Linked DNA regions of Homo sapiens: all the other regions are linked to region 6. Evidence: promoter capture Hi-C in 16 types of primary human blood cells and fetal thymus (Javierre and others, 2016). All regions are on one chromosome and are shown on one strand. The core of a region is centred on a gene start or on the middle of the fragment in contact, and the rest is flanking DNA. Distances in the headings are between cores, read along the strand shown. Region 1 has its middle 39 kb from the start of LINC02031. Region 2 overlaps ATP11B (ATPase phospholipid transporting 11B (putative)). Region 3 holds the start of MCCC1 (methylcrotonyl-CoA carboxylase subunit 1). Region 4 overlaps ATP11B-DT (ATP11B divergent transcript). Region 5 holds the start of DCUN1D1 (defective in cullin neddylation 1 domain containing 1). Region 6 holds the start of TTC14 (tetratricopeptide repeat domain 14).

Evidence for each region. The method cuts DNA at HindIII sites, captures the fragments that hold promoters and counts their contacts. A CHiCAGO score of 5 or more calls a contact.
Region 1: a fragment that was not itself captured here is called in contact with the fragment with the promoter of TTC14 in region 6 in 7 of 17 cell types (non-activated CD4 T cells, naive B cells, total CD8 T cells and 4 more); the score reaches 10.0 in non-activated CD4 T cells.
Region 2: a fragment that was not itself captured here is called in contact with the fragment with the promoter of TTC14 in region 6 in 2 of 17 cell types (naive CD8 T cells and naive CD4 T cells); the score reaches 7.1 in naive CD8 T cells.
Region 3: a fragment that was not itself captured here is called in contact with the fragment with the promoter of TTC14 in region 6 in 1 of 17 cell types (total CD8 T cells); the score reaches 5.3 in total CD8 T cells.
Region 4: a contact is called between a fragment that was not itself captured here and the fragment with the promoter of TTC14 in region 6, in 2 of 17 cell types (naive B cells and total CD8 T cells). The highest score is 5.7, in naive B cells.
Region 5: a contact is called between a fragment that was not itself captured here and the fragment with the promoter of TTC14 in region 6, in 2 of 17 cell types (non-activated CD4 T cells and activated CD4 T cells). The highest score is 7.2, in non-activated CD4 T cells.

Annotation. Positions count from the first base shown.
Region 1 is chr3:182,681,386-182,685,208 of GRCh38, reverse strand. No RefSeq gene overlaps it. Among named protein-coding and RNA genes, the nearest start is that of LINC02031, 39 kb to the right of the region's middle. RefSeq lists enhancers at 1,504-1,553, 2,678-2,727 and silencers at 2,398-2,467, 2,878-2,947. The HindIII fragment of the contact is 1,092 bases long and covers 1,239-2,330 here.
Region 2 is chr3:182,802,579-182,806,828 of GRCh38, reverse strand. All of the region lies in intron 1 of ATP11B (ATPase phospholipid transporting 11B (putative)), which reads right to left. Among named protein-coding and RNA genes, the nearest start is that of ATP11B, 11 kb to the right of the region's middle. RefSeq lists a silencer at 4,114-4,250. The HindIII fragment of the contact is 4,370 bases long and covers 1-4,178 here.
Region 3 is chr3:183,095,613-183,099,822 of GRCh38, reverse strand. MCCC1 (methylcrotonyl-CoA carboxylase subunit 1) reads left to right here and starts at 327. Exons shown (of 19, transcript NM_020166.5): 1 at 327-471. The coding sequence starts at 383. RefSeq lists an enhancer at 262-401. The HindIII fragment of the contact is 810 bases long and covers 2,035-2,844 here.
Region 4 is chr3:182,779,722-182,783,549 of GRCh38, reverse strand. It overlaps ATP11B-DT (ATP11B divergent transcript), which reads left to right. Exons shown (of 3, transcript NR_187316.1): 3 at 1-951. Among named protein-coding and RNA genes, the nearest start is that of ATP11B-DT, 12 kb to the left of the region's middle. The HindIII fragment of the contact is 870 bases long and covers 1,407-2,276 here.
Region 5 is chr3:182,979,902-182,984,066 of GRCh38, reverse strand. DCUN1D1 (defective in cullin neddylation 1 domain containing 1) reads left to right here and starts at 3,529. Exons shown (of 7, transcript NM_020640.4): 1 at 3,529-3,580. The coding sequence starts at 3,578. LOC105374246 (a long non-coding RNA gene) reads right to left here and starts at 3,260. Exons shown (of 2, transcript XR_924771.2): 1 at 2,580-3,260. RefSeq lists silencers at 3,241-3,680, 3,741-3,860. The HindIII fragment of the contact is 5,858 bases long and covers 1-4,165 here.
Region 6 is chr3:180,600,539-180,604,401 of GRCh38, reverse strand. It overlaps TTC14 (tetratricopeptide repeat domain 14), which reads right to left and starts at 2,239. Exons shown (of 12, transcript NM_133462.4): 1 at 1,980-2,239; 2 at 1,387-1,511; 3 at 1,079-1,278; 4 at 93-177. The coding sequence starts at 2,140. It overlaps TTC14-DT (TTC14 divergent transcript), which reads left to right and starts at 2,289. Exons shown (of 3, transcript NR_183700.1): 1 at 2,289-2,499. RefSeq lists an enhancer at 2,159-2,448. The HindIII fragment of the contact is 2,365 bases long and covers 219-2,583 here.

The DNA of each region.
Region 1 (3,823 bases), core at 535-3,034, 2.1 Mb before region 6:
CTAGACGATGAAGAGTCAAGACCATGGATTCTCTCAGGTGCACTGAGTTTGGTGTGCTGTGTGAAGCCTGGTGTGTGTGTTGGGATTCACCACAGCCTCTTTTTATTGGCATACTAAACGTTTATACTGTGGCAAATGGGAGGACAAGTTCCTCCACCATGGACCTAAACAGACTCAAAATAAATAAAGCTTTGCTTCTTAAATACTGTCTTATCTGTAGATTATTTTCTCTTTGATAAAAATATATTTTTTTCAAATGACAGCCATTTTCATGTGTCGTTCCTTCTTAGAGAACATTGAGTTACCTCCTTCGAGCAGCCATGATGTTGGTGGCTTCATCCATCCCCCTTTTGGCAATATCCTGGACAATAAAGCAGAAAAATGGAAGGAAATTAATACTATGGTGACACTGTGGGGGGTCTCTATATCAACCCTTGCTTGAAGCTTGAGCTGAATTTTCAGTTATATGAGTCAATGTACTCATGTATTGTATAAGACAGATTTTGGGTTTTAGTCGCAGTTAAAAGCATCCTAATGAAAATATCTCTTGTTAAAGTATAACTTGAACATATGACTCAGGTGAAGATTTATCACCTCTGAGGGAAACCAAATTTAGGTTTCACTCCAGGTTGGAGTGCCGTGGTGCAACCTTGGCTCACTGCAACCTTGAACTCTTGGGCTCAAGTGATCCTCCCTCCTCAACCTCCCAAGTAGCTAGGACTACAAGCACCCGCCACCATGACCAGTTAATTTTTAAATGTTTTGAGAGATGGGCATCTGGCTACGTTGCCCAGGTTGGTCTCAAACTCCTGACCTCAGGTGATCCTCCTGCCTCAGGCTCCCAAAGTGCTGAGATTACAGGTGTGAGTCACCTTGCCTTGCCTGAATACACTGTTTTGACTTTTGAGATTAAAACGGAAGTAAATGAAATAAACTCACGACAATGAGCCAATGGCCAGCACTGTTATAGATCAATAACACAGGTTTCAACTCTTTGGAGGGAGAGTAACTAACTTACTTTCTGCACCTAACTTTCTGTATCACATCATTCTTTTCTTCCTGAGCTCAAACTCTGTCTCAGTAGCTTTCTGTAGCAGCCCCTGCGGGCACATAAGATAACATCTATCTGTGCTCCTTATCAAGCCATTCTGTCTAGTCCTAAATGTCAGAATAGGTACTAACACAGCTTTGGGCTTTGCAAGAAAATGTTCTCATCTTTTATCATCAGTTGGAAAGCTTTGGGGGCAGGAGAGACAAGAAGATTCATTCATTATTTTCAACACATATTTAAGTTTCTATATAAAACAAGGAGTGAGGTTCAATCCACAAAAGTTAATGGAAAAGTAACATCGAATTTCATGGTTGGCAGAGGTAAAGAACCACAGTTCCTAAGACACCGGCAAGTCAATTTAGGAAAGAAAAATTGCAGTGCCCACCTTCTTCCACAGAGGGGCACTCCAAGCTCATCACTGAAACCGTGCACTGTGTTGTTTTCAGTGAGCGGTTGTAGAAAAAGAACTTCCAATCTTTTCTCCATGCCTAGGGATTATTAAGAGCGTAGAATTTAAAGTACATTTGCAGGGCTCGATGTGAATGAGGCAAAACCATTTCAGTATCAATCCCAGTGGTGCCAGCAACCCATTCTAAATTAACTCAGGTTTAAATATGTTACAGAAATGTGTTAAATTTGAGAACAAATTTCACTTAGGATCTGTGGGTCTCTGTTACACAAAAGATGGAATACTTTGGAGGCAATGCAGTTCTTATTTAAAGCTAAAATATGGCTTATCATAAAACTATAGTCAGCCCGCTTCAAACACTCATGTCTTCACCAGAATGGGCAATATAGAATGAAAATTACACCTTGAGTAAACAGAATTGTAGATAAATGAGTTATGTCTCAAGACGTTTTGAATATTTTTATTATTGTGTCTGGGCCAAAAGTCTTTCCATATGTCCAAAGGCCCCGTGGCATTTCCAAATCAGCCGTGGGTGACGGTGGGACCGCGGGGCTCGTATGATGCCAACGCAAGCGTACCGGGTGGTCCTCATAGTTTGTTACATTCCAAAATGCAACCATTAAAGGGGCGGCCCTTACCTTCCCTAGTGAATACAAAAAGCCTTTGGAGACCAAAGGGCTGGAATGCTGGGGCAAACGCCACCCCACGTGCTGACCCCTTGGCCAGAGCCGAGGCGGGCGGCCTGGAGTCCCCAGCGCGGAGCCCCCAGGTTCCCAGGAGCTCGGGTCGCTCTCCGCTCTCCGCCCCTCGCCCGGGCCCACGGAAAGGGCTAAATGGCTTGCGACCAAACAGCGAATTTAAAAGGAAGCTTTCACGAAAAGCCCAAGGGAGCGGCAGCCCAGATTGTGTGGAGGGCAGAGCCGCGGGTTCCGAGGGTCCCCGGGGCGAAGCGGGCAGGGGCGCACCTCCGGGCCGCGGGCAGATGGAACCCGGGCTCCCGGGCCGGCGCGCGGGGGGCGGCCGCCTAGACATCCTCTCATTCGGCTGAAGTTTATTCTGGGCCACCGAGAGCTGGAACAGGAAATGTTCCGTCTTTCATGTCCACCGGTGGGCTTCAGACAGTTTTGCACCTCCCGGCGAGCACTGATTAGCCGGCTGAGTTCTGCCGCATTTGAAGTTCACCATTTATTATTAAAGAGAAGTGGCAGTGATTAGTGCTGGGTCCTCGGGGAGTGGAATAAATATTTACTAAATAAGAACGTTCCGCCATAAAGGAACGGCTCGAACAGGTTTCTGAAACCCCGGCGCGGGCCCCAAGTGCCGCCCCCAGGCAGGAAGCGGCGTTGCGGGGCTTTCCGCGAGAGGCTGCCATCTGCAGACCGTGCTGGGCGGCGACCTCCGCGGGGCAGGGCTCGGCCCGGCGCAGCCAGGGCCCGACGAAACTCGGCACTCTGGGCGTTTAAGTTATTTTATAGGCTGTGTTTGTTTTATAAAGGCAGAGGTGAATGTCAAACTAAACTTCGAACCTTTCTTTAATTTAAGGAACAAAGTAACATTTTATCGCTCAAGTAAGGGGACTGTGTTGCTTCCAACGTTAGGAGCATTTTCCAGTATGCTCCAAAGTGTACCCAAATTGTGAGCATCCAAGAAAGCATATTTATGTATATTTCAAAACATTATGTCATACAATGTAAATTATACAGTTTTTATTTGTCAACTGAAGAATAATAGTAAAAAAAAAAGTTTATTTAGTTTATTTGGCAATTAACTTACACGATGGCATCCCTGTCAAAAGCATTCATGTTGGTTGTTTAAAAAGCGTTTTCCTTAATTATTAGAATAATACTTTTACTGTAGAAAATATGAAATTTGCATATATCTAAACATCAGTATCACATGCTTTTTTCCATCATATTTTGCAGTGGGAATTGTCCAATGACATTACATATTTTTAGGGACAAATTTAGTGTCTATATCCATTTATTTAACTTACAGTGAATTAATAAACATTAAGGTAGTTTCAAGTTTTCCTTATTATAATAGCTCAATTAATATTTTTGTATGCAATTCTACACTTGTCTGATTATTCCCTGGCACCATTTTATTTTGAATTTCTTTTATTGTAAGTTGGGTTTAATATTATATTGCGAATAATTACAGAGAAGGGCCAGTTTTTGCTCATCACCATGTACCTGGTGTCTTGTATTATGCTGAGCACATACCAAATGCCCAATAGATATTGATTGAATGAATAAAAGAATAAAAAGTTAGTAGAACATTTGAATTTCTTGTTTTGTGAATTGCTTAATATTATTCATTTATTATGATAAGTTATCTTTTTCTTATGAATTTATAAGCTGTGT
Region 2 (4,250 bases), core at 744-3,243, 2.2 Mb before region 6:
CTTTGAAAGAAGCCTGGAAAAAGCTGGGTACCTTTAAAATAAGTATGTTTAAGATCTCCAAAGGAATAATGGAATAATATTTTTAATGAAAAATTATGAAACAAATCAGGCACATATGCAGAAAGAGCAGACAGAAATGAACAAGGTCCAATAATAAATAAATGCTGAAAATGAGAAATTGTCATTTAAGTAAAAATTCAGAAGACAGGATAAACTACAGTGAAAACAAGAGAATTGGTGGACTAGAAGCTAGAAATAAAAAATTTCTGCTGAAAACAGCACAGATAGAAAATGAGATGAGAATAAGAAAAGAGCCATAGAGAACAAATTAAGAGGCTTCAACATATGTCAAGCAAGAGTTCTAGAATGAGAAAACTAAAGGCTGAGAAATAATATTTTAAAGAAAAAATGGCTAAAAATTTTTCTGAATTGTATAGTCTTCAGATTGAAAGCACACGCAAATGCAGAGCAGGAAAAACAATATGAAAAAACATGATGGATACATCACAGTAAAATTACAAAATATCAAGGACAAAGATAATCTTAAAAATAATGTGAAAGATATTACCAACAAAGTAATGACAATTAGATTAAAAGCATATTTCATAACAGCAATAATAAATGTCAGAAAGTAATGGAATAAGTAGTATCTCCAATACGTAGAGCTAAAGTAACCATTAATCTAGAATTCTGTATCTAGCTAAATTCCCATTCAATAGTGACTATGAAATAAAAACATTACCACTCATGAACTCTTGCTTAAAAACAACTAAAGAAGTTATTCAGCAAGAATAAAATTAAATCCAGAAGAAAGAGGTGGTATGCAAGAAACAATAATGAGTAAAAGATATCACTAAATCCTTGTGCTAAATAAAAATTACCATATTAATTAAAAACTAATGCTAAAAAACATTGAGTTTAAAAAGAAGTAGGACTACAACCCACATTATGGGAGAAAATATTTGCAAATCACATCTCATAAAGGTCTTATATCTAGAATATATAAAGAAGTCTTACAACTCAAGAATTTTTTTTAAAACACAAGAAATAACCCAATTAAAAACAAGCGGCCCAGTGCGGTGGCTCACGCCTGTAATCCCAGCACTTTGGGAAGCCAAGGCAGACAGATCACCTGAGGTTAGGAGTTCGAGACCAGTCTGACCAACATGGAGAAACCCCATCATTACTAAAAAAAAAAAAAAAGAAATTAGCTGGGCCTGGTAGCACGCGCCTATAATACCAGCTACTTGGGAGGCTGAGGCAGGAGAATCACTTCAATCTGGGAGGCGGAGGTTGCCATGATCTGAGATCGTGCCATTGCATTCCAGCCTGGGCAACAAGAGTGAAACTCCGTCTCAAAAGAAAAAAAAAAAAGCAAAAATATCTGAATAGGCATTTCTCCAAAAATGATACACAAATGGCCAACAGGTACATAAAAAAAATTGGATATCATTAGTCATTAGGGAAGCACAAACCAAAATCGCAGTAAGATACTATTCATACCCACTAGGATGACTATAATCAAAAAGACAGACAAAAGTAAGTGTTGGCAAGGATATGAAGACATTGGAACCCTCATACATTGCTAGTGGGAATGTAAAATGGTCCAGATAGTTTGGAAAACACTTTGGCAATTCCTCACAAAGTTAAAAACAGAGTTACTATATGACCCAATAAAAGTCTACTCTTTAGGTATAAGCCCAAATGAAAATACACATCTACATAACAACTTACAGATGAATGGTCAAAGCCGTGTTATTTCTAATACCCAGAAGGCAGAAACAACCCAAATGTCCATCAATTGATGGATGAATTAAAAAATGTGGTATATCCATAAAATTGAGTATTATTTGGCAATAAAAAGAAATGAAGTAGTGATACATGCTACAACATAGAAGAACCTTGAAAACATTATGCTAGGTGAAAGAACACTGTTACAAAATACCACATATATGGTACGATGACATTTATATAAAATGTTCAGAGTAGGCAAATCTAGAAACAGAAAGTGGTTGATTTAGGCTGGGGGCTTGAGGTTTGGGAAAATGGGGAATGACAGTTAATGAGTATCGAGTTTCTTTTGGGAAGAAAAAATATCCTAAAATTAGAGTGTGGTGATGGTTACACTAACCTGTGAATACACTAGAAAAAAACTGAATCATATACTTTATAAGGGTAAATTGTATGTTATGTGAGTTGTATCTCAATAAAGCTGGTCAAAGAGAAAAAACAGACTACTATGCAACTGTAACGCAGAAGATGAGAAAGAACACTGGAGTTAAGAAATCTAAATTCCTGCCAGGTGCGGTCGCTCACACCTGTAATCCCAGCACTTTGGGAGGCCAAGGCGAGCGGATCACGAGGCCAGGAGATCAAGACCATGGTGAAACCCCGTCTCTGCTAAAAACACAAAAAATTAGCCGGGCGTCGTGGCGGGTGCCTGTAGTCCCAGCTACTCGGGAGGCTGAGGTAGGAGAATGGCCTGAACCCTGGAGGCAGAGCTTGCAGTGAGCCAAGATCACGCCACTGCACTTCAGCCTGGGGGTCAGAGGGAGACTCTGTCTCAAAAGAAAAAAAAAGAAAAAAAAAAGAAATCTAAATTCCTATGTTATTTGTAGATTATGTATAGAGATGCTCAATGACTATAGGCATAACTAGAAAAATAAATAAAAATGAAAATACAATCCATAGCTTATAATCATCAAAGGGAAAAAATATGAAGAAACTTAACTTCAATGCAAAGCTAATCAAAATCTAGAACTATTTTCCATGGAGCTAGACAAACACTGTAAGTGGCATATGGAAGAATAAAGTTCAGTATAATTGTAAAAAGAAAAAAAAAGAAGGTGGGGGTTCTGCCTGCCAAATACCAAGACTTATCATTAAAATACTATAATTAAGACAGAGCATTATTTGTGCACCAAGAAATGAATGAAATGGAATACAGAATCTAGAATGAGACCAAGGTATATGAAAGAGAATGCTGGTATATGACAGAGTATGTGAAAGAGAATGCTGGTACGTGTCCTAAATGTGTCACTTATGACAGAGAAGGCAAACAACACAGACTCGTGGAGGAAGGATGCCTCATTCAATAAACAGCATTGACACAACTTTCTATACGGGAGAAAACAAATTCCCTTCCTTATTCCATATACAAAAATTGATTCCAGGTATCTTTAAAGATCTAAATGTTAAAAAACTAATTTTAAAACAATTTGAAGAAAACGCTGGAAAAACAGCTTTATGATCCTAGTATAACAAAGGAATTGTCAAATATGTAATAAAAAGCAGAAATCATATGTCTAATAAATTTACCTACAAATAAATTTAAACTTTCTGTATAAAAAAAGATACCATAAACTAAATTAAATACACGGAACAGACTAGAAGATATTTACAACATATACAACAAAGAATTGGCATCCAGGCTATAGCAAGAATTAGGAAAGGCCAAACTACCCAATGGAAAACGGGCAATCTATTCATGTGAATGAAATTGAGGATACCTGCATCTCACCAGCAATCAAGAAAATGCAAATTAGAACAAAATGAGACACTATTTCACACCCATCAGACTGGTACGTTTTTTCAAGTCTGACAGTACAAAGTGTTGAGCAAGATGTAGGGAAAGGAGAACTCTGTTTTAGAAAATACTTTGGCAATATTTAGTAACAGTCATAATGTACGTGACCCATGACCCAGCAATTCCACTTCTGGGTATTTAACTTCAAAATAAATAAATAAATAAACAATAATAGTCATTGTAACACTTTTTGTAACAGGAAAAAATTGGCAACAATCCGAATATACATTAGAAAAAAAGAACCCCCCATAAGATTGGCTGGGGCAGGGATTACTTCATTTTGGTAGTTCCAAAGCCTAGCAACAAATATGCTATCACAGAAAACTAATTCACTTACAGAAAATGACTCAATTCATCAATACATGAGAAAGAAATGGTGTCACCTAAAAGGGGATGCAGAGTTGAGAAATGGCTTTTGTTAAATGGAGAACAAAACTAAAGCAGACAAAATCCCTTCCTTCCTGAGATAAATGAGACTAGCAAGTTTTGGAGTAGGTTAAATAGCATTAAGTGCTGAGAAATCAAGCAAGGAAAGGCAACAGGGAAGTAATGGGGAGGGTCAGAACATTATACTGAATGGCTGGAAAAAGCTTCACTCATGAATAACGCAATATTTGAATAAAGACTTGAAAGGAGCGAAGGAGCCAGCAGATGTCTGCAGGAA
Region 3 (4,210 bases), core at 1,190-3,689, 2.5 Mb before region 6:
CCAGGGTTCTTCTCCCAGAAGGTGACGAGAGCGAAGAAACCCCACGGGATGCAGGAAGAAACAGTGACAGGCAACCAAGAGGGGGAGGATGGAGAAAACCCTTGCCTTAGTCAGAGCAGGCCCCAGGGGACGCAGAAACAAAGGCCACACCCCCACGAGCACGTGGCCAGACTGCCCAATCGTCGCTACTGAAGCCGGGCTCTGGTCTTTGATTGGTGTTCGTGGAGACGCCCTCACATTCTTGGATCAGCCCAAAGGTAGGCTCAGGCTCCGACGGTGGCCGGCGGGGGTCACGAGGCTTCGTAGTGGAGGAACGGGTTTGGCGTGTGGGACGCAGCTGCCTCTGTACTGGGGAGTCACGGAGTGGCCGGGCTCCAGGGACATGGCGGCGGCCTCTGCGGTGTCGGTGCTGCTGGTGGCGGCGGAGAGGAACCGGTGGCATCGTCTCCCGAGCCTGCTCCTGCCGCCGAGGTGGGTGGAGGGGCCATGGCTCAGTGGGCAGAGGCGGGAGCGAGGGGTGCACGGACCCGCGTGAGCGGTGGGAGGTGCGGCGGAACCCAGGGTCGGTGTGGGGAGGACGGTAGGAAAACCCCAGGCACTTTCGGAGGGGTTCTGCCGGCAGTCACGGCGTCGGGAGGAAGACATCCCCACCAGCCCTTCCCTTTCTCCCCGCTTCCGCACATCCACGCTTCAGCGCGCCTTTGGCTTCTGTTTTTCCATTTCTGAGGACTGGGCCCGCCATCCTCCAGGCTCCCCTCGCCGTCGCTGCAGCTCGTAGCCGTTTACATCGGGCTTTCGCAGCACCCCTTAGGTGGGAGCGTTGTTATAATCCGGTTCCGGGGAAGCCCAAAGGGATCAACGACTTCCTCAACGAAACACAGCTAGTAAGAAATGGGGCCGGGATGCCCTCAAAGCCATTTTTCAGTTCAGCTGTGCCCCATCAGGTGTCCAGTTCAGAGAAAGACTCCTGGAGTTCCTTCTCATTGTTAGAAGAGTGAAGTTGTCAAGAAGAGCAAATGTACCTTCCACAGAGCTGGGAAATTATTTTGTCAAAAACTCTTGTACCCAAGTTTGAACAACGCTATCAGATGACTCAGTCTAGCTCACCTGACTCCAGCTCTGTTTCAAATTTTGAGCTCTAAGCTTTGGTGGCAATAACTCTGGCAGTGAAAAAACCCTCAGGCTTGTAGATAGCTTTGCTTCTTTGTCTTCTTTTGCTTCATCGTTATCATCCTTCATCATTCTGGAAAGATTGACAGTTTAGTGTTCAAGGGCACAGACTCTGCAGTCAAGGCTGAGGTCTTAGTTAGCTACTCACTAGGTGTGTGACTTTGGGTAAGTTACTTAATATTTCTTCTTTAATTTCCTCACCTTGGAGATGATACGAGTACCTTGGGTTGTGAAAACTAAATGAATTAATTCATGGAATGAGGTTTAAGCACAATCTGGTACATAAGATCAGTCTATAAATGCAAACTCAACCATTTATATGAACGTTTGCTTGCTTTTATTTTCCAGAAATATTGTAGATGCCCTTTTTAGTTACTTAATTGTAGGAGTGCCCCAGAGAAACATAAGAAAGTTGTTGGAAGTTGGCGGGGCGCGGTAGCTCACGCCTGTAATCGCAGCACTTTGGGACGCCGAGGCGGGCAGATCACGAGGTCAGGAGATCGAGACCAACCTGGATAACACGGTGAAACCCCGTCTGTACTAAAAAATACAAAAAATTTAGCCGGGCGTGGTGACACGCGCCTATAGTCCCGCCTGTTAGTCCCAGCTACTCGGGAGGCTGAGGCAGGAGAATGGTGTGAACCCAGGAGGCGGAGCTTGCAGTGAGCTAAGATCACGCCACTGCACTCCAGCCTGGGCGACAGAGTAAGACTCCGTCTCAAATAAAAAATAAAAAAATAAAAAAAAAAGTTGGTGTAAGTAATGTTAATGTTCTTCTTGTTCTTCTGGTTTTTCTTTTCTTAGGCCTCCAGGGCTCTTCAGGATAGTACCATAGACCCATTTCCTGTCTTCCCTTTCAAAGCTTAGCTATTGTCTAAAGAACTATCCTCAAGTATGTCACTCTGGAGAGTGTTAGAGTTGTTAATGGCTTATAGAAGTAAAACTCTTTGCCAGGAGACTTGGTTCATGCCTGTATTTTCAGCAGTTTCTCAGCACTGTGGGATCCAAGGTGGGAGGATTGCTTGAGTTCAAGAGTTCAAGACCAGCCTGGGCAACACAGTGAGGCTTCATCTCTACAAAACATTAAAAAATTAGCCAGGCGTAGTGGCACACACTTGTAGTCACAGCTACTTGGGAGGATGAGGAGGGCGAGGACGGCCTGAGTCCAGGGGTTCCAGGCCGTAGTGAGCCATGATCACACCACTGTACTCCATCCTGGGTGACATCCCATCTCAAATAAAACAAAAACAAAAAAATCTTAACAGCACAGATAGTTTACATTATTTTTATGTTATGAATCTTTAGTAGCTCACAGAAAATAATCTCTGGTGGCAGAATTATAGACATGACAATAAGCTGGTATAGAGCTACCTTGAATCAGGGAAGCAGCTTCTTTTTTTTTTTTTGAGACGGAGTCTCGCTCTGTCGCCCAGGCCGGACTGCGGACTGCAGTGGCGCAATCTCGGCTCACTGCAAGCTCCGGGGAAGCAGCTTCTTAATCTTGTTTAAGCCATTGCTTTTAAGTTGCAGCTTAGATAATTGTGAAAAATGGAATAGATGATCAGAACATTGTTGGGATAGTGGATTACAGTTAAGTGGGATCTCTGTCTCTTTCTCCCTCTTTTTCCCTCTCTCCCTTCTTCTGTCTTCACTAGAAGATTGCAAAAGAAAGCTTTAGGTCAACAGTAGCCTTGAAACCGAATCAGTCTTAAGCTAGCTTTACCAACAAGCAACCATTTAATAGATACATCTGCCCAGAATAGGCCTTGAAACTTATCAGAAGCCTATCTGAAGAATGTAAAGGGAAGACGATGCTATGAGCTAGAAAATACCTCATAAAGATCAGGAAAGATGATCCCCCTCCTTCAGGATCAAGAAGGTAACATCAGCTGAAATGGAAAGGTGTGGGAAAGCAGCAGCCTCGTGAGGAAGCTAGCTCACGGAACTCTCCTGCCAAAGCTGTGGGTCTTCCCAGCAGCTCCTCATGGATGGCAGCATCTGAGTGTGCATTGTAGGGCAATGAGTGTATAGACGCATATAGATGTGTAGATGTCTACTGCATCTCCGCTCCAGTGAAATACTAGTCCTGCTCAACTACATAGTCATATACATAATATGTATATACTACTGCCTAGTTACATAGTTTCTAATGCACACGCTGTGCTTTTATCTTGTGCTTTGTGAATAATCTAAAATGGTTAGTTAGTCCTTTATAACCACATCTTCCAGGTATAGACAAAAAGATAGGTGGAATTGCTTCTGTAATTTGTTTGTTTCCCTGCATATGCTTTTTATTTATTTATTTATTTTTTTTTTTGAGATGGAGTCTCACTCTGTCACCCAGGCTGGAATGTAGTGGCACGATCTTGGCTCACTGCAACCTCCACCTCCCAAGTTCAAGTGATACTCCTGCCTCAGCCTCCCAAGTAGCTGAGATTACAGGTGCGCACCACCACACCTGGCTAATTTTTGTATTGTTAGTAGAGATGGGGTTTCACCATGTTGGCCAGGCTGGTCTCGAACTCCTGACCTCAGGTAATCCCCCCACCTCAGCCTCTCAAATTGCTAGGATTACAGGCGTGAGCCACTGCACCCAGCCCACTTATCCTCTTTAGCTGAAACTTAATAGACGTTATACTTTTTTGTTCCTAAAGTGAATCTGGCCTGTTTTCTGTCAGCTCTTGGTTACTTTATTTTATACACAGGTATCACGAAACTTAAAAATTGTTGAGACTTCTACCTCATTAAAATACCTCAAGTCATTTTGTCTCCCCATTTCTCCATTTTTTTAAATACAAGGACTTGGAATAGAATTGTATAGTACTTTTAAATCTGAGAGGTACCTTCAAGATCACCTCTTATAGTCTCATCTCGTGTGTGAGAACACTGAAGCCCAAGCTATTAAATCTTGCATCCTCAACTGGGATGATACCACCGCTAAAGGGTGGAAATTGATTCTTAGGAGAGCCAGGAAATCTTAGATTTTGTCATGGTTTACGGCTTTCCAAAGCTCAACCTTACCCCACCCTTCCTACAAGGA
Region 4 (3,828 bases), core at 592-3,091, 2.2 Mb before region 6:
AATAATGATTGAGACTGTCCTCTATATCAGAGGTAAGCATATACAGTACAGCCTGTTCTTTAACTCCTTTTTCCTCACCTGACTCAATTTTCTGTTGATTAAATGTTAGACTGAGAATGAAAGTATACTTGTTAGATTTGGCTACTTATTGAAAGCTGCAGTTTTGGCTAGGCATAGTGTGGCTTATACCTGTAATCCCAGCACACTGGAAGGCTGAGGTGGGAGGATGGCTTGAGACCAGGAGTTTGGGACCAGCCTGGGCAACATAGCAAGACCCCGTCTCTACAAAAAATGAAAAATAAAAAAATGAAAAAAAACTGCAGTTTAAATGTGACTCTAATCACACTATTAAACAGTGTACATTCTTGTAACTAACACAGAAGTTTGGTTCATAACAAATTTAGTTATTAATAAATGAGGCCTCTATATGGTATTCAAAGAAAATGCTTGTGGAATGAAAGACATCTTTTGTGAATATACAGTGAGGGGAGTCTCAAAGTCTGTTACTTCTTTATAGTTCTCTCTCCAACAGAATATTATCTCTGTGGATGACAGTAGATCTTCAATATCTTGCTCTTACCTATCTTTATTATCTTTATCCCCAATTGGTTTCAGTTTCCCTCCTCTGCAAGCAATTGTCTTTATTTCATCATTCAGATAGACTGAGCTGATGGATCAACAGAAGCCAGAAAATTATATATGCACACTGTATGTTTAATACTGGTGTGCAATCTCATTACTGTAAGCACAATGTTTTTAAAAAAATCTGTTCAAACAGAGTTTATATGAATAGCAACCTTTGTTCTCTCAGGCTTACTTGAGTGGAAAAAATCCTTTTGAGGCTATAAAAGAACTTGTGGTACAATATTGATTAATCAGTAATGCAAATTAGCTTTGAGTTTACCATTCAAATGTGGAAAAATATCTTTGAATAAAAAAGTGAGACCCTCACTTCTGGCTCTGTGCTGCTTTCGGTGGTTGATTCCCTCAGACATACTTCCCTCATAATGATGGTGAGGATTATTACCTTATGAATTTAAAAAAATCATCTGTTGACCTTTACTATCATGCCTGAAATAAAGCTCCTAAGAAGAAAATATTAATTTCAGTTGAAGGTAAATTCAATAGAGTTTCACTTCATCTCAACCACATTTTCCAAACCACTAGACCACTAAATGTTCACTGGAGACTTTAAGATCGTGGTAAAATTAGCAGTTTGGTAATAATTGATTTGAGGGCCAAGAAACAATAGAGGCTCAAAACCCACAAACCCCAAATCTATTAAATTATCCTGTTTTGAATGTTTACTTTAAAAAAAGAGTAAGCAGATGATTTTAAAACAGTCACTTCATTTTGGATTGTATACCCTTCTGAGGAAGGATTAAATTTTATAGTTTAACAAAGCTTTCTGAAGACTCAAGATTTGAGCTGATATATTTTAATAAGGAAAAATTATTACCTGCTTGTTAATTTAGTCAAAAATATTATTTATCTATTTTTTAAAAATTACCTGGGCGTGGTGGTGCATACCTGTAGTCCCAGCTACTCAGGAGGTGGAAGTGGCAGGATCGTTTGAGCCTGGGAGGTTGAGGCTTCAGTGAGCCAAGACTGCACCACTGCACTCTAATCTGGGTGTTAGAGCAAGACCCTGTCTCAAAAAAAAAAAAAAAGTCTTTTATCTCTAAAGTCCCAGAGATGTGAAAATGTATCATTAAATTTTAAATTATCAGTAACAATCAAGATTCAAGTTGCTTCAAGAATGCTAAAATTGACTTTATTTTATTGTCAGTTCCTTTATATTGTGCCTTTTCTGGATTTGTAGCCAATAATTTGTTAGATCCAGTTATGCTTATTAATTTAATTTTCTTTTTCACTATATGGCAAACAAGATGTATTCCCAGATTATTGTTTTGTAGGAATTACTCTTTGTTTTTCTTAAAACTATACACTGTTTTTTTATATGATTTTCCATGATCTTATTTAATCTCACAGCATGAGTTTAGCAATTATTTAGTAGCTATATGTCCACATTTTCTTGGCCCTGATTGGCCTTGTAATCCACTGTATACAATTTAATCCACATACCAGGCATTAAACAACAACAATAGAATCAATAATAATAATGCCTACTATTTGTTGAGGACTCACTAGGAGCCAAGCCCTGAACTAAATACGTAACACATTATCTTATTTAATCCTCTCTAATCCCAATGAGGGCATTATTTTATTCCTATTATGACACTATTAACTATTATATAGCTACCATTTGTTAAGCTTGGTGGTATGAACTAAGTGCTTTACATGTATCATTTAATTCTCACAACAACTATATTTTATTTATAGTTACATCAGCCATATGGTTAAAATGGTTGGTAAAGTACTGAAATACTTCCATAGTGGTCAGTGAAGAACTCAGTGCCCTGAGTTCCCCAAGTATCCTCCATACCACACCCTATATCTCCAGTGGCTCAACTCTTCTCCTGCGGACCCCTCAACCTTGTCCTCAAATTCTGAAACTAAAGGGTTAACACTGGGCACAGCAGGTGCTCCCAACATCGAGGCAATACCAGAGTCCCTTCTGATTGGTTGGTGCCCAAGATGTACCAGGCATTAAATATTTTGACTATTAACAGGAACGTAGGTATTATAGTTCCCATTTTGCAGGTGACAAAAATCACATAAGTACACAAAAGTTAAGCAACTTGCCTAAGATCACCCATCTACGAACTGTCAGAACCAGAACACAAACCTAGGTCTCTCTCAGGTTAAAATCTTTGCTCTTAACTAGTATAGTATGCTAAAAAACGGAGAATACCAGCTCACCATTGATGGGCACTTCCCAGGCCCAATGTGAATAGCTTTGGAACTCTGTACTCTGTGTCCGGCTACTTGTGCGATGGATTTAATGCTTTTCATTCTTATCTTAAAGCTGTGAAAATACTGTTTTCTTAACTGGTTCCAAGACATAATAATGAGCATGCAAGTACTGGATTGATAATGGGTATTGCTTTGCATTATTTTGCTCTCATCCTATACTCACTAATTTAGCCCATGTTGTGTTATTTTGCAACAATCTCCCTATAAGTAAAAATTACCTTATTCATTTTATGCCTATGTCCCCACATAAACAGCCTTGGTATTTAGGCTAATCGTTAAACACATCAAGAATGGTAAGTTATAAAAGTAACATTTTAATATACTTTTAAACTGTGCTTACTTTTATATAATTTAATGTCTAAAATCCAAAGACCAAAGGCTGAAAATCTTTGTTATTATGTTTTGCTTCTCTACTTCTGTGTCTCATCTACCATGTCTTTCTCTCCATTCCTGATAAAAAGCTAACTTCCAATTTAATGTACATCATGTCCAAGTCATTTATATAATCTTGTCCTTAATATTTAAGAAAATTCTAATGCTATTATTACAGTTCTGTATATCTTTTGAAGTCAGTAACTTAGACCGACACAGGAACCAACAATTCTGCCGACTACAAAGCACACTTTTATTTAACAAAATGCAGCAAATTCCCAGAGCTGAGTATGCCACGTCCATTCACCAAAGTGGGAAAATTTGACTAGGGGAGAAAGCAGAATTACTGTGGTCATGGTGAAAGGGTGGTATTTGGAAATAGAAGAGGCAGATCTCTTGAAGATATGTCTGGCATCAAGTCACAGAGCCAAGAAGTTTTCTTTTTGTTTTTGTTTGTTTGTTTGTTTGTGACAGCGTCTCACTCTGTCCAGGGTCTATTCACTCCAGGCTGGAGTGCAGTAGCACAAGCATAGCTCACTGCAGCCTCGACCTCTTGGACTCAAGGGATCCTCCCGCCTC
Region 5 (4,165 bases), core at 1,044-3,543, 2.4 Mb before region 6:
ATGTCAGGCACTCACTTTGACACTGAAAACTCAAAGAATTGTGCAACCAGGTCTCTGACCTTAAGCAGTGCAGTCTGGCAGGGGAGATGGTCATGTTGGCAAATGCTTATCATATGAATGTCATAAGTGTAACAAAAGTATATGTAAGGTGTGGGGAGAAACTTGCCTAACTGCTGGAATCCAAGGATCAGGTCAGGAGACAATCATAGAGAAGATGGTCTTTGAGTTGAGTACTGAGATCTTGGTGGGAAATATAATGTGGTAATCAAGAGAATAGACTAACCAGATAGCCAGACTATCAGGTTTCAAATCCTAGCTCTGCTACTTGCTAGCTAGGGAATCTCTTTTTTTTTTTCTTTGAGGTGGAATCTCATTCTTCTTGCCCAGGCTGGAGTGCAGTGGCGCGATCTCAGCTCACTGCAACCTCTGCCTCCAGGGTTCAAGCGATTCTCCTGCCTCAGCCTCCGGACTAGCTGGGATTGCAGGCATGCGCAACCATGCCCGGTTAATTTTAGTAGAGATGGGATTTCGCCATGTTGGCCAGGCTGGTCTCGAACTCCTGAACTTAAGTTATCTGCCCGCCTTGGCATCCCCAAGTGCTGGGATTACAGGCGTGAGCCACTGCGCCTGGCCTAGCTAGGGAATTTTAGGCATATTATTTAATCTCTCTGTGCTTCCATTTTCCCCTTTGTAGGATGGGCGTAATAGCTGGGCATGCTCATAGGGTAGAAGTGAGGTTATATGAGTTAGTATGTGTCGCAGTGAGGATTACATAAATTAGTATGTGTCATGGGCTCAGTCAGTATTAGCTAGGAGGCCAGGGATAGGAGAATTGGAGAAAGCAAGGAAACATGCAGAGGTATGGCAGTCTTGGTTTGTGAAAACTGAAATATGAGGTGCATTTGGGTGGAGGGTGGTGGAAAATGGCAATGGGAATGGATAGATCAGAGGAGAGAACTTTAATGCCATTCCAGAGGCTCATGCTTATGCAGCTCTTGGAGAATTTTACGGACAAATTCACATTTGCATTATAGAAAGACAACTATGGAGCAGTGGAGAAGGAGTAGAGGCTGGAAGATTAGGTAAGAAGTTACTGATGAGGAGAGATGATAAAGAATTGGCTGGCCAGGCGCGGTGGCTCACGCCTGTGATCCCAGTACTTTGGGAGACCGAGGTGGGGCAGATCATGAGGTCAGGAGTTCGAGACCAGCCTGACAAACATGGTGAAACCCTGTTTCTATTAAAAATGCAAAAAGTAGCTGGGCATGGTGGCACACATCTGTAATCCCAGCTACTCGGTGGGGGCTGAGACAGGAGAATCGCTTGAACCTGGGAGGCGGAGGTTGCAGTGAGCTGAGATTGCGCCATTGTACTCCAGCCTGGGTGACAGAACTAGACTCCATCTCAAAAACAAACAAAAAAATACAACAACAAAAAGAATTGGCTAAGAAATAGAAGGCAGGGTGCAGATTTAAAAGTCATTTAGGAGGGAAAACTGGTGAGATGCGGAGTAAGGGGATGAGGCAGGAAGAGTGGTGGATGATTCTTAGATTTCTAGTTTGGATGATTTGATAAAAGGCAGGAGGAAAAGTGGGTTTGGGGATAAAGTTTTAGATTTGGTGAGCTTGATGGACCTGTGAAATGACCAGAATGAGTGTTTAGGCCTGTCACTTGGGGACTGGAAGTCAAGATTTGAGATTCCTCTTGATATGGGCAGTAGTTGACGTGGGAATGTGAGTGACAGCGTGACACAGGCTGTATACAGAAGGACGTTCAGGAATGGTCAGGAAAGCCTAAATTGAGTACAGCCAGCAAAGGAGAGTGGTCAGAGTAAAGAGGAGATGCAGGAGAAGGTGGAGTCATGGAAAATGAACAGGAAATTCAAGGAGGAAGTGTCCAAACGCAGGCGAGAGGTCAATTAGAATAACTAAGGCCTGTACCTTGGTAGAGCTTAGGAAAACCCACAAACGATTATTTCAATGGAGTAGAACAGATTGGAGTAAGAGATACAGTGAATCCTCCTCATTAACGCCCTAGGTGTTAATACTTTAGGTCAAAAGCTAGGTGAATTCCTGGAGAACCTCCGTGGATGTAGTCCAGTTTCAGGCTTGCTGCATGAGGCAGATCTGGCTTCTCCTTGCAGGACTATTTACCCAGAGCCCAGCAAGGAGCTTGGCACATTCACATGCATTCTTTAAATATTGGGGGAAAGAATGGATGAACGGTTTGTGGCCGCCAGAAACCTGCCTTGGTACAGCGCTGGGCGCTCCCAGTACATGGCTAGCTCCAGGAAGTTAGGAGGCCTTTGGGAGTTACCAAAGAAGTTCTGTTGTTTTGGTAAGAACAAATTCATTAGTTATAGGGTTGATCTGGTCGTTTAATGCCTGTGCTGGTGATGATGGTGATAACGGGTCTACTCAGGTGGGTCCTGTTCTGAAACGTAGGTAAGCTCTTGGTACAGTTTCAGATGTGACTTTCTGAGTGAGTTTGCTTTCTTAGCTGTTTTATTTCCTTCCTGTGTGAAGGTGTCTTATCTCTCCAACTGGATACTACATTTCTGAAGGGCAAGGACCACTTACTCCACAGGAGTCTTCTGTCCTCCTTGCAGCACGAATTTGTCCACTTGATCCTCAGCTCAGAATCCTAGTGCTCCTCAGCCTCAGTTGATTTAACGCCCAGGGCAGGTCACACCTGGACTGTCCGCCCTGCGTGACTAGACCCTCAGTGAAAAAATGTGTAGTTGCTTCCCGAAACTTATCCTGGGCGGGCCGAACTGAGGGGATACTGAGAGCTAGCAGTAGGCAGGCAACCTGGACTCCCGCAGCCCGGCCTTGGGTCTCAGTGCACCCCACCCCATCTCACTATAGGGTTACCCCAACTGTCTCCCAGTAGACAGGTCTGGGGAGAGCCTGGTCCTCACTAATGGAGTGACAGCCACCGCAGGGGGGGGACTAAGGTCTCCCCTGGGATGCCCACGCGAGGGAACTGATGTAGGTCTGATACTGAGATTGGGGGGAAAAAGAAGAAAACACGGGGCAGGGGGAGGTGTTTCCACTATCTTCTCCCTTTTTTTGATACTGATGGGGAGGGGAGGTCTGGGATGGATGAAGCTCCTCAACCATCCGTTTCAGCCGCCCCCAGCTGCTCAACTTATCCGCCGCCGCTCGTGCCCGCTTCCAGCCTGCGTAGACCCGGCCGTGGTCGTCCGGAAGGAACCGCGTAGGAAACGGAGGTGGGGTGTCCCCCGGCGCCCCCACCAGAGACCGCCCGGCGCGGCAGGAGGATGTCGGCGCGCGGAGGGCTTGCGTCGCCCGCCCCTCCCCCGCCGCGCCCCCCGCCCCCGCCCACTCCCCGGGGGACCCCCGCGCCCGGGGGAAGCCCCGCGCGGGGCGCCCTCCGCCTGCCTCCGTCCCTCCGCCTCCCCGAGGTCCGGGGCTGCCTCCTCGGGCCGCGCCGGGCCGCCCCGCACTGCGCATGAGCGGGAGCCGGGCAAGCCCGTGAGAGGAGCCGCCGCCGCCGCCGCCGTCCATTCGCTGCGGAGCCGGAGGAGGAGGGGAGAGGCCTGGAGGACACCAACATGGTGAGGCACTGCGGCCGCCCGCCCGCCCTGCCGGCTGGGGGCCGGCGCTGCCGCGCACCCCCGCCCCGGCCGCCCTCCGTCCCGCGGCGACCCTGCAGCCCCGAGCCTCGGCCCGCGGCCTCCGTCCCGCTCCCAGGCGGGGGCTCTCCTGCCTGCCTCTCCCTTCCTCCTTCGCCCCTTCCCGCCCGGGCGCAGCCGCTACGCGAGAGCCGAGGAGGCGGAGCGGAGCCGGGCCTAGTCGGGAGCCCCGGGGAGTTTGGGGCGCGGGGAGCGGCCCCGGTGCCCCTTGCCGGGGCCCGGCGCGGGTGGGGGAGGCGTTGGGGCGGGGGGAGGGGAGGGGGCAACGGCCTTGCCCCTGCCCCTCTGCCGGCTCCATTGTGTCTGGTCGGGGACTGGGGTCTGGGGTTCCGGGTGAGTAGCCTCCCCCCGCCCCGAAGCCGGGGCTTCCCTCTCCGCCCGGCCGGGGAGAAGGAAAGACTTTCCCGGCGCGCCTCTCCCTCCTCCGCTCCCGGCTCCAATACCCCGCAAGTCTCCCAGGCAGTTTTGCTTGGGGCGGGGTATCAGCCCTTTTCCTTTCTCCATCAC
Region 6 (3,863 bases), core at 990-3,489:
AACACTACCCTCTTAGACTGTATTTTTTTAAATTAATAAAAACAAAAATTCAACAATCATTACTTTTTTATTAGTATGATGAAACTAATCACCTCGAATGATGTCACCAGTTTGGTAATATGATAAAGGATCCCCATGGTTACTGTGAGAAGGCACATCTCTTAAGGGACAAAGAGCCTGTAATGAGAAGTATTTTAAAACACCAGACATTTCAAGCTTTGATAAGAACAGTGTCTTCTTTTATCTTAGTTGTTTGGTATGAAACAGCTAGTAGTTGAACAACCTAAAGTAAAAATTTAAATAAGGATTTAGTTAAAAGTAATTTCCGTGTCCAAACACAGTAAAATATGTTTGCTGGTTCAGTTAAAAAACTAAAATCTCATGAAACTTTCCATTAGTTTAGGAACCAAATATGATGGCTTATGACAGTATACAACATGCATCAAAAACAAACTAAAATTTGTCTAAAAGGTATAAGGATTCCAGTGAAAATGAAATGCCAATTCTCCAAAGTATTTTGTCTGTTATCCAATCTGTAATACCTTCTGCTTTTCTTCCTTTTTATCTGCCTGGATAGATGGCAAATACCCAATCTTTTATCGTGACACATTAGTTTAAATTCAGGACTATCCATCTTGGGCAAAGTATCTTAATATAATGTACAAACCACTTACATTTAATTATTGTAAATATATAAATGAAACTTCTCTCCAAATTATCCACATGAAAATATACAATGCCAAATATTAACTAATTAAGAATACATATGTTCAACTACAAGAAATAAGTCTGAATATCAATCAACCTCACCACGTCCACTGATACCTCTTTGAGCATTTAGAAAAGAACACTGTGCCTGCCAACCAGTTTAAATTTAAAAAATCCCAAAAACCAGAAATGGAGGGAGAAACTGGGTAACTTACACTAATTTTTTTAAACTATTTTTCTCCAATTAACATTTAATTTCCAAAAGCATCTTGGCAGGTATACTTGAGCACAACTGCATGCAAAGATATAGTTCTTGCATTGAGATGCGTTAACAAAAACAGAAGCAATCCAAGTAACAAAAATAACTTACTGTGATTTCTAAGTGGGCTATATCTCTCATGATACCACTTCCTAAACAGATCAACACCATGAAAAAACCGAATTCCCGAATAGAACTAATTCTTCCAATCACTATATCACCACGCTCAATATCTCGGAAAAACAGCTCTCTCCGATCCATACTAGGTATCTCCATGAATTGCTCTAAAGGTGGCATGATTGCATAATGATCTAAAAAAAAAAAATTAACAAAATCACTAACGATAGTTTTGAGTTCCGTTTCACCTGAAGTACTGTTAAACCGAACCGCAATCTTAAAGATTTTAAGGCTAAACTGACCTTCACTGTCTTCATTAATTTCAGAAGTTGCAGGTGCATCTGATTTCCAGGAAAGTGCAAAAAGCAGATCCGCTTTTTTGGAGATGAATTTCTGTATCTCGATGTTGTCAACTCTCTTCTCTTTTCTTAAAAAGAAAAAAATATATATGAAAATTGGGTTATCTGCAAAGCCTCTTTACTTCTAACCTTCTGCTTATGGCTTTCATCGCCCATTCCGCTCCATCCTAAGCTGCAGACAATACAACCTCAGACAAAAAGTTTTAACTAGGCATTCCCTCATTAACCAACCTGGAGGTGGAGAGCGGGGAAACTTAAAAAGTGACGCCTCCAACTCAGATAGGAAAGCTCAAGGGATTTTTAGCTAAGGAATCTGCGCCTCTACCAAGCAGTGCCAGAGAAAAAGTTCAGCCCGCATCCCGCATTGCACAACCCAGGAGCGCCCCCCGTCCACCCAGCCCAAGACACCAGCGCGCGATCGTCCTGTGCTCACGGCCGCGGCTCCACTTCCTCTAGACGCAAACCCGGGGCTGCGGTAGTGGCTGCCAGAGCTGCGTCCCCTCTTCCGTGGCGCAGTGGCACCAACGTCTCATTACCTGCCCTGCAACGGGTGCTGGGGCGGCGGGCCCCGGGCTGGCTCGGCGGCCGACCCCAGGAGGCTACGGAAGTGTGGATTGTCCTGCTGTTCGCTCCGAAGTAGAGAGAGCAAAGACGACCCGTGGCAATTTAGCGACTGCCGCAAAAGGTCCCGGTCCATGGCTAGAGAATGCAGGGCCCGGAGGCCGACGGGCTGATAGTTCCCTGTTCCGTGTCCGCTACTTGAGCCGGGTGGTACAGGAAGCGGAAGAAACTGTCTGGAGGCTGCCGGAAGTACACAGACAGCACAACCAGTTACACCCGGAAGTGTTCTGGGGTCGCCCCCACGGCGGCGCGGCGGAGCTCAGCCTCGATCTCGCGAAACCGAGCGAGACTACGGAAGGCCGAAGGATTGGGCTCAGCATTGCTTGGGCTAAAGGCTGACTAGGGCTTCCAGGAAGTGATGTATGTGAGAAGTTTGCTTTTTAAAGTGTACGTGGGATCGTTATTACGTCGAAATAGCTCGAGCTGTAACCTAGGGTAAATAATAATTCCTTTTCGTATTCATCAAGGTGCTTCTAAGTGCCAGTGCCAGGGTAAGAACCCTATACGAGTCTCCAAGCTTCTTCCCTCGACGTACTCTCTGCGTAAATCAATACCTGTGTCTCTGGCGTAACCCCATTCAACCGGCTGCTCCGGGAAGGTTTCCAGGTGGTTTTAAGGGCAGAAGAAAGGAAGGACACGGACATTTGTTAAGCACCTGGAGTGGTGTTCTCCATCCATACCCCATTTACTGTTAGTGATTGTGAATTCTAAAACCAGGATGGCTTTAATGTCTCCACACGTGCATATGCCATTCAAGTTTTACAATAACTAATGAACACATGCATTTCTTATTTAGTTTATCTCAATGGTTGCTCAAAATTTAGTGTCTGTGGGACTTACTGTATAGTGGTATGTACGCAAAAGTCAATATACTGTTCTTATGGACAATTCAAGTGATTTTCAAAGGGAATTTCAACTTAGGTCCCCCATCCCCTTACTTACTGACTTGAGAACCTAACCACTATGGTAGCTATTGTACTTTTTCATTTTAGAAAACGAGGAAACATGCTCAGAGAGTCCCAGTAAATTGCTCAATGGCACACAGCTAGTAAGAGGCTAGAGTTAGGATTCCAAACGAAGTATTAATTGGTCTTCTCAGGCAGAGTTGCTGGATTGAGTATTTTATCATATGGAAGGTCTAACTAACCCTAATTTTGAGATCATGTAGCTTCGTTTTATTCCAGTATAAAATTTGTACCATTTAAATATGTTCAGTGTAAATAGTTCAGTATAGTCCTCTTGAACAGAAATAAACGGTGACAGTTAGTCTCTCCACTTCCCACCATGTGTCTTTGAGGAAATCAACTTGCCTTTCACTGTGTTACCACTTTTGTATAGGAGATCTAGCCCAGAACATAATCGATACTGCCACACTGTTTTGTGGAAAACCCAGGCAAATAGGTAAACAGTTTGAGACTTGAGAAAATGCAACAAACAAGAATGCAACTGTAAAAGATAAATTTGGGTTAGGCACGGTGGCTCACACCTGTAATCCCAGTACTTTGGGAGGCCGAGGGTGGATCACTTGAGGTCAGGAGTTCAGAGACCAGCTTGGCCACCATGGCCTAACCCCGTCTCTACTAAAAATACAAAAATTAGCCGAGCGTGGTGGCTCATGCCTGTAGTCCCAGCTACTCGGGAGGCTGAGGCACGAGAATCTCTTGAACTCCGGAGGCGGGGGTTGTAATGAACTGAGATCGCGCCACGGCAGTCCAGCTTGGGCGCCGGAGGGAGACTCCGTCTCAATAAATAAATAAATAAATAAATTTCAAGCTTCTATAGGCATATCAACTTTAATA